2 separate regions of the Homo sapiens genome follow, and region 2 is linked to region 1. Evidence: promoter capture Hi-C in human tissues and cell types (Jung and others, 2019). All regions are on one chromosome and are shown on one strand. Each heading gives the region's core, a stretch centred on a gene start or on the middle of the fragment in contact. The rest is flanking DNA. Distances are from core to core; before and after follow the strand shown. Region 1 holds the start of ITGA3 (integrin subunit alpha 3). Region 2 holds the start of SAMD14 (sterile alpha motif domain containing 14).

Evidence for each region. Contacts are between HindIII fragments. The study calls those that stand out against the background at their distance.
Region 2: the fragment with the promoter of SAMD14 here is called in contact with the fragment with the promoter of ITGA3 in region 1 in 1 of the 25 tissues and cell types used here (IMR-90 fibroblasts).

Annotation. Positions count from the first base shown.
Region 1 is chr17:50,054,663-50,057,725 of GRCh38, reverse strand. It overlaps ITGA3 (integrin subunit alpha 3), which reads right to left and starts at 1,616. Exons shown (of 26, transcript NM_002204.4): 1 at 1,081-1,616. The coding sequence starts at 1,286. PICART1 (p53 inducible cancer associated RNA transcript 1) reads left to right here and starts at 1,987. Exons shown (of 3, transcript NR_038230.1): 1 at 1,987-2,097. RefSeq lists a silencer at 1,543-1,682 and an enhancer at 2,662-3,063. The HindIII fragment of the contact is 12,867 bases long and covers 1-3,063 here.
Region 2 is chr17:50,128,544-50,131,606 of GRCh38, reverse strand. SAMD14 (sterile alpha motif domain containing 14) reads left to right here and starts at 1,447. Exons shown (of 10, transcript NM_001257359.2): 1 at 1,447-2,090. RefSeq lists silencers at 1,352-1,431, 1,672-1,731. The HindIII fragment of the contact is 12,261 bases long and covers 1-3,063 here.

The DNA of each region.
Region 1 (3,063 bases), core at 367-2,866:
AGTGGGGTCAGAGGCCAGGTGGGGGCAGAGGCTAGGTGGGGGCAGATGCCTGGCAGATCGCCCAGCCCAAAGTGGTGGATGGTACCTGCTTAACCTGTCCTAAACACCGTCCCTCTTTGGACAGCTTCACCTCCCCCAACCGCCAACCTCCGCGCGCTCTGAGGCCACGGCAGAGAGACCTCTGAAGCCTGGACATGCTCCTGGGCATGAGGGCGTCTGGTGGAGTGAGGGGGACCCAGGAGGCTGGGTGCAACCTCCTCCTCCTTCCTCCACTGTGCATAGCTCTTCCCCTCCTCCTTGCAGCTGTTGGGGAAGGAGAACAGAAGAAAGAGAAAAACACTGTTTCCCTCTTCAAACCAAAACAAACACACTCAGGGTTGAAGATCCAACACGAATCTGTGGAATGCAGGGAAGATGTCTGCGGGGAGAGTGCCACTGCTTGCGGGTGGGCAGGAGGAGACCCAGCCAGAGTTGGGACAAGTCCTCCTCTCTCTTTCACCGCCCCTATCCTCAAGGCGTCAGAGGGAGCGTATGGACAGCTCCAAACGCCCAGACTCACCCATCGCCTCACCCTCCATCCGCCAAGCCAGCGGTTGAGAAGGCCATCCAGTCTGGCTCTGCAGAGGGTGTGGCTGGCGTGGCCGCAGACTACCAGCGAGGTGCTTAAATGTATATGCTCATTTTTCCCCCAAGCGTACGGGAAGGGGGGAGTCCGCTGGGTGTTTATCTTGCAGTTTACCCCAGCTCCCAGCCCTGGAGAGAACAGGCTAGTGCTGGGTACTCGGTTCACAGAATGGGAGAGGACTCAGCCACCGGGACCCCACTTCCGCTCTCATGAGAGATCTAAAGGGCGGAGGGGTGGCGTCCAGACAGGTTCTGGCCCCGTCAGCACTTGCCAATGATTACTGCCCGACCCCACACCCAATCCTCCACTTCCCGCCAACCCCCAGCAGCCAGAGGGCCGCCCCTTAATCCTGGCTCCCAAGGGCCAGCTGCCCTGGGCTCCGACTCAGCTCCGGACCCGCATCCCGCGCTCGCACACTCTCTCGCTCCCACCCCACACCCTCCAGCTTCACTTACAGGTAGCGCTGCTGCCGCTCTGTCTGCCGATGGAGGGCGACCGAGTAGCCGAAGAGGCTGCCCGGGTTCCCGGCCTCCTTCACTACCAGGAATCGGGTATCCAGGTTGAAGGCGGAGACGACGCAGCCGCCGGCCGCCACCATCAAGGCGAGCGCACAGAGCATCAGGCGTGGGGCGCGGGGCGCGCGGCTGGGGCCGGGGCCCATGGCTGCCAGCGGAAGCGGGGTCCCGGCGAGAGCGCGTGAGGGCGCGGAGCTGGGCGTGAGGACCTGTTCACCTGCTCCCCGCGCCGCCGGAGGACACTGGAACCCGCCGGCCGCTGCGCTCCGTAGCGCTGATCGGTTTCGTGCCCCCAGCCCCAGCCAGTTTCACAGCTGCGCTCTCGGATCCCTTCCTAAGATCCGTGGGTCTATCTTCCTGCCTCCCCAGCGGCCGGGTCGCCGCCGTCCCTGCCCCGGGCAACCGGCCCCCAGCTTGTCCCGGCCGCGCCCCCTTGGCCGCGCTGTCGCCTTCGATCCCGGCTTCGCGGCGGATCTGGCAAGCGCACCGGTCGACCGCAAGGAGGACAGGAGGGAGGGGTCCCCCGGCGCGCGCCCCGCCTCCCCACGCCCAGTCCCGCACCTCCCCACCTTGCGAGCCCAGCCCGGGCTGCGCTTTCCTTCCGGGGAAAGAGAAAAAGATCCCGGCTCGGCCGCCTCCTCTTAAAGGGGCAGCACCGCCCCTCCCTCCTCATCCTCCCTACCCCAGCTCCGCCTTCTCCCCCAAACACCTGTCGGCAACCCCCAAAGGCTTAGATTTCCCCTCCCCGCCCCTCGCTTCTCCGAGAAAGCGTCGCCTGGGGAGCAAGATGGATGTGACGGGCGGGGCCGGGGGTGGGATTTGTCTGGCCGCTTTCCTGCGGCTGCTGCTGCTGCTGCTGAAAAGGCCAGCCGGGCTGGAGAGACCTGGCATTGGCGCATCTGGGAACCGACGTCCGTGCGCGGCTGGCTAGAATGCTGGACTCGCCTCCGCAGCGCTGTGAGTCCCCAAGAGGTGGCTGGCGGTCTCTGGGAGTTCTTCCTCGCACTCAGGCCCCTCGCTGTCTTTGCCGAGATTTATTTCTCCTATCCACTCACCCTGATCCGAGCTGAGATTGGCTCCTCAGCAAAGACAGACATATTTAGCAGTGGTAACAACCAAATGTCGCTAATTATAATTACCAAAAAGCATTTTTCCCCCTAAGTGCTGCGACTTCTGGTATCAAAGGCTAAGACTGTCAATGTAGAAATGAGTCCGTCCTTCACAGAACGCACTGCGTAGCCGGGAAGCTGAGCCTAGACCGTATCCATTTCTCGTCCACTCCTGCCTTCAGGGCCCAGCCCAGCAGAATCCCAGAGGCTCCCTCTTCCCACCCAAGCTCGAACAGAGTGTTTGGAGACTGGGCTCGGACGTCAGCACCCATCAGGTGTTTGGTGGGTAGGGCCAGGTGGCAGTAAGTGGGCGGAGACTAAAGGTCTCCTCCACCAAGGAATCAAATCGAAAGGGAACTTCAAGAGGTTACTCTGGCCAGGCGCAGTGGTTCACGCCTGTAATCCCAGCACTTTGGGAACCCGGGGAGGGCGGATCACGAAGTCAGGAGTTCGAGACCAGCCTGGCCAATGTGGGGAAACCCTGTCTCTACTAAAAAAATACAAAAATTAGCCGGTCGTGGTGGCGGGCGCCTGTAGTTCCAGCTATTTGGGAGGCTGGGGCAGGAGAATCGCTTGAACCCGGGAGGCGCAGGTTGCAGTGAGCCGAGATCGCGCCACTGCACTCCAGCCTGGGTGACAGAGTGAGACGTCGTCTCAAAAAAAAAAAAGAGGTTACTATGTACTTTCTTGGATCTAACTCACATTTCTCTTATTGCAGCTCAGAGACCCATTTTCCCCGGAACATTGTTTTTTTGTTTTGTTTTGTTTTGTTTTTGAGACGACGGAGTCTCGCTCTGTCTCCCAGGCTGGAGTG
Region 2 (3,063 bases), core at 198-2,697, 74 kb before region 1:
TCTAGACCCCTGATCCAGCTTCACCACTTGCCTTTTTTTTTTTTTTTTTTTTTTTTTTTTTTTTTTTTTTTTGAGATTTGAGTTTCACTCTGTTGGCCAGGCTGAAAGGCAGTGGCACAATCTCAGCTCACTCCAACCTCCACCTCCCAGGTTCAAGCAATTCTCATGCCTCAGCCTCCAGAGTAGCGCCACCATGCCTGACTAATTTTTGTATTTTTAGTAGAGACAAGGGTTTCACCATGTTGGCCAGGCTGGTCTCGAACTCCTGACCTCATGTAATCCACCCACCTTGGCCTCCCAAAGTGCTGGGATTACAGTCGTGAGCCACTGCGCCTGGCCTTTCACCACTTGCTCTTGAGCAAAGCACTTTCCTTCTTCTAAGTCTCTGTTTTCTCTGAGGCAGTGGGTAATGGAAACACCCACCTTGTGGGTTTATTGTGAGGGTGACAATAGATGATCTGAGAGCGCCTGGCACCTGCCAAGCTGTGACGTGCGGTAGCTGGTTGTGGATCCCTACATTGCCTCCCTGGCTGGCCTGCCACTACCATCAGCGCACTGGGTCCAAGTCTGATCTCATCCGTCCCCACCCCCACCTGCTCCAGGGCTTCCTGCCTCAAGCCAAGGTCCACAGCCATCCTAGACCCCTCCTCCCTCACCTCCTAGTCCAGCAGGTCCCCAAATCCTGTCAGCTTCTTCGGTGTCAGCTTCTTCAGGCCTGCATCCTGAAGGGCTCTCAGCTTAATCTGTAATCTTTATGCCCACTGCCACCGGCCCTCAATAGCCTCCAGCGGGTCTCCCTGCCTTCAGAGTGCCCTCTGTAACCCTGTCTCCAGGGGAGCCAAGGGTGCTTCCTAAATGCACACCTGAGCCCCTCCCTCCTCTTAATTTTGTGTGTGTGCGCGCGCGCGCGTGTGTGTGTGTGTGTGTGTGTGTGTGTGGGCGGCGGGGTGGGCGGCTGGTAGAATAAAGTGCAAGCCCCCTGCACCTCCCCAGCTTCAATTTATCTTCCCCTCTTGCCCTCCCACCCCCAACACCCCCTGGCACTTCCCTACCCTGGCCCGCAGTTGTAGCCAACACATCACATCCTCTGGGAATCCCCCAGCCCAGCTCCCGCCGCGGCCGCCTGGACCCAGGCCGGGCCAGGGGTGCGCTCTCCCTTCCGGCAAGAAGTGCCCTCTGTTAGCTGGGCCCATGGCGCCCAGGCTCGTGAGGGCCTCCCCACTCGTCTGAGCCCCCGACTGGCCCACTGGCCTTGAGCGCAGTTAGGGGGCGGGGGTTCTGTTCACCGCTGTCCCCTCCAGCCTCGGCGCCCCGGCTGCTCGGCGGACGTTTGTTGAATGAATGAACTAATCGGGAGCCCTGATGGACCCGGCAGAGGAGGCGGAAGCCCCGTGGGTCCCGTGGCGGGACCGCCCCGGAGCCGCTCCCACCCGCGCAGACTCCGGTGCGCCGCGTCTCCCGCGGGCAGAGAAGTAGCTGCAACTCCGCTCCCCGGCCCCAGCCGCCTCCTCCCCGCCGCCCTCCCCCGCCCCCGCCCCCTCGCTCCCTCCCGCTCTTTGTCTCCTGGGCGCCCGGCTTCTCCGCCACGCGCCCCCCACCCCGACGCCCCTTCCCCGGAGACCCCCGCGGACCCCTGCCGACGCGACGCCGCGCGAATCGGCCCTGCCAGGCGGGGGCCCCGCGTCCGGCCAGGCCTGGCGGGCGGCAGGGGCGGGGAGGGAGGTGGCGCTCGCTCTTCGCTCTTCTCTCTCTCTCTCTCTCTGTCACACACACACACACGCACACGCACACGCACACACACACGGAGCATCCTCCCGTCAGGTCTCCTGGTCCAGCCCCGCCCGCGCCTCCTGCTTCCAGCGAACCTGTTCCCTCTCCCCACATCCCCCGCCCTCCATCTCCCCCGGCTCTGGGACCCTTCCCGCCGACCTCACCCCCACCCCCGGGATGGAGCGGCTCGAGCCCGCCCGGAGCCCCCCGCGGCCGGGGTGACGGTCCCCCCACCCCTCTCCTGCCCGGCCCCCGCCTCGAGCACCATGGGCCTGAGGGGTTCCCGGGGCGCCAGACGCTGAAGATGACCGATGCCGGAGGTGAGGGGCCGGGCGCCCTGGGGTGGACCGGGAACTGGGGCTAGGGCCACTCGGGCCCGCGGTGGGACCCTGAGTGGGGTTGGGCAGGGCTAAGCGACAAGGGCCTTTCTTCCCCTATCCCTAGGGGGACCGCACGGGGCTGGGGTGCCGGGCTGTCAGGGGAGGGGGCGGAGATAGGATTTATGGCCCTAATCCCCTCCCTCCCGCCCGACGCCCGGAGAAATTAATAAAAAGCTGGTGTGGGGGGAGGGGGAGAGGGCTTAACTCTTTCTTGCCCGGCGGGGAGTTGTGCTGATGGTTTGGAGAGAAACTAGCCACCGGGCTCTGACTGGGGAGAAGGGCTCTGAGAGTGGAGTAGGTGCCCTGTCCCCAACCTCACCCCATCTCCAACAGTGCTTTGAGGGGGTGCCCGACTCCTGAGGACTACCCCAAGCCTGGGGCCAGTGGACGGCCGGCGATATGGGAAGGGGGGACCACCTCTCTGGCTCCACAACTGCCTCCCCGACCGCTAGTCTCCTTTCCCATCCACCTCTTCCCGGCCTCTCCCAGTTGCACTTCTCTCTGTCGCTTTCTCCTCTTCAGGGGCCCTTTCCTATCGCCTGCCCGAAGGGCTTCTCCCTTCTCTCCCACCCTCGGGCGTCACTTAGAGCGGCGGAAGCCCTTGTTCCCAGTGCCAGTTCCCGTGGCCCCACTCTCGGTGTGATCTCTTTCTTCTCAGCAGCCCTGTGGACTCTCCGCCAGTTTGTGTGTCTGTCTCTGCTTCTTCCTACTCCTCACTTCCTTCCGCTCCCGCTCCCGCTCCCTCCCCAGGAATTGTGCGCCCTTTCTTCCTTTCTCCTTCTCCTGGGTCCCAAGAGGCTGTGAGCTCACCTGCCTCCCTTTCTCCCAGAGAAGGGTCAAAGGTCATTGGTGCTCCTTCTCCAGGATTGGAAGCCTTGGGGGGAAGGGTATCCAGAGGAACCGGTTCAATCCC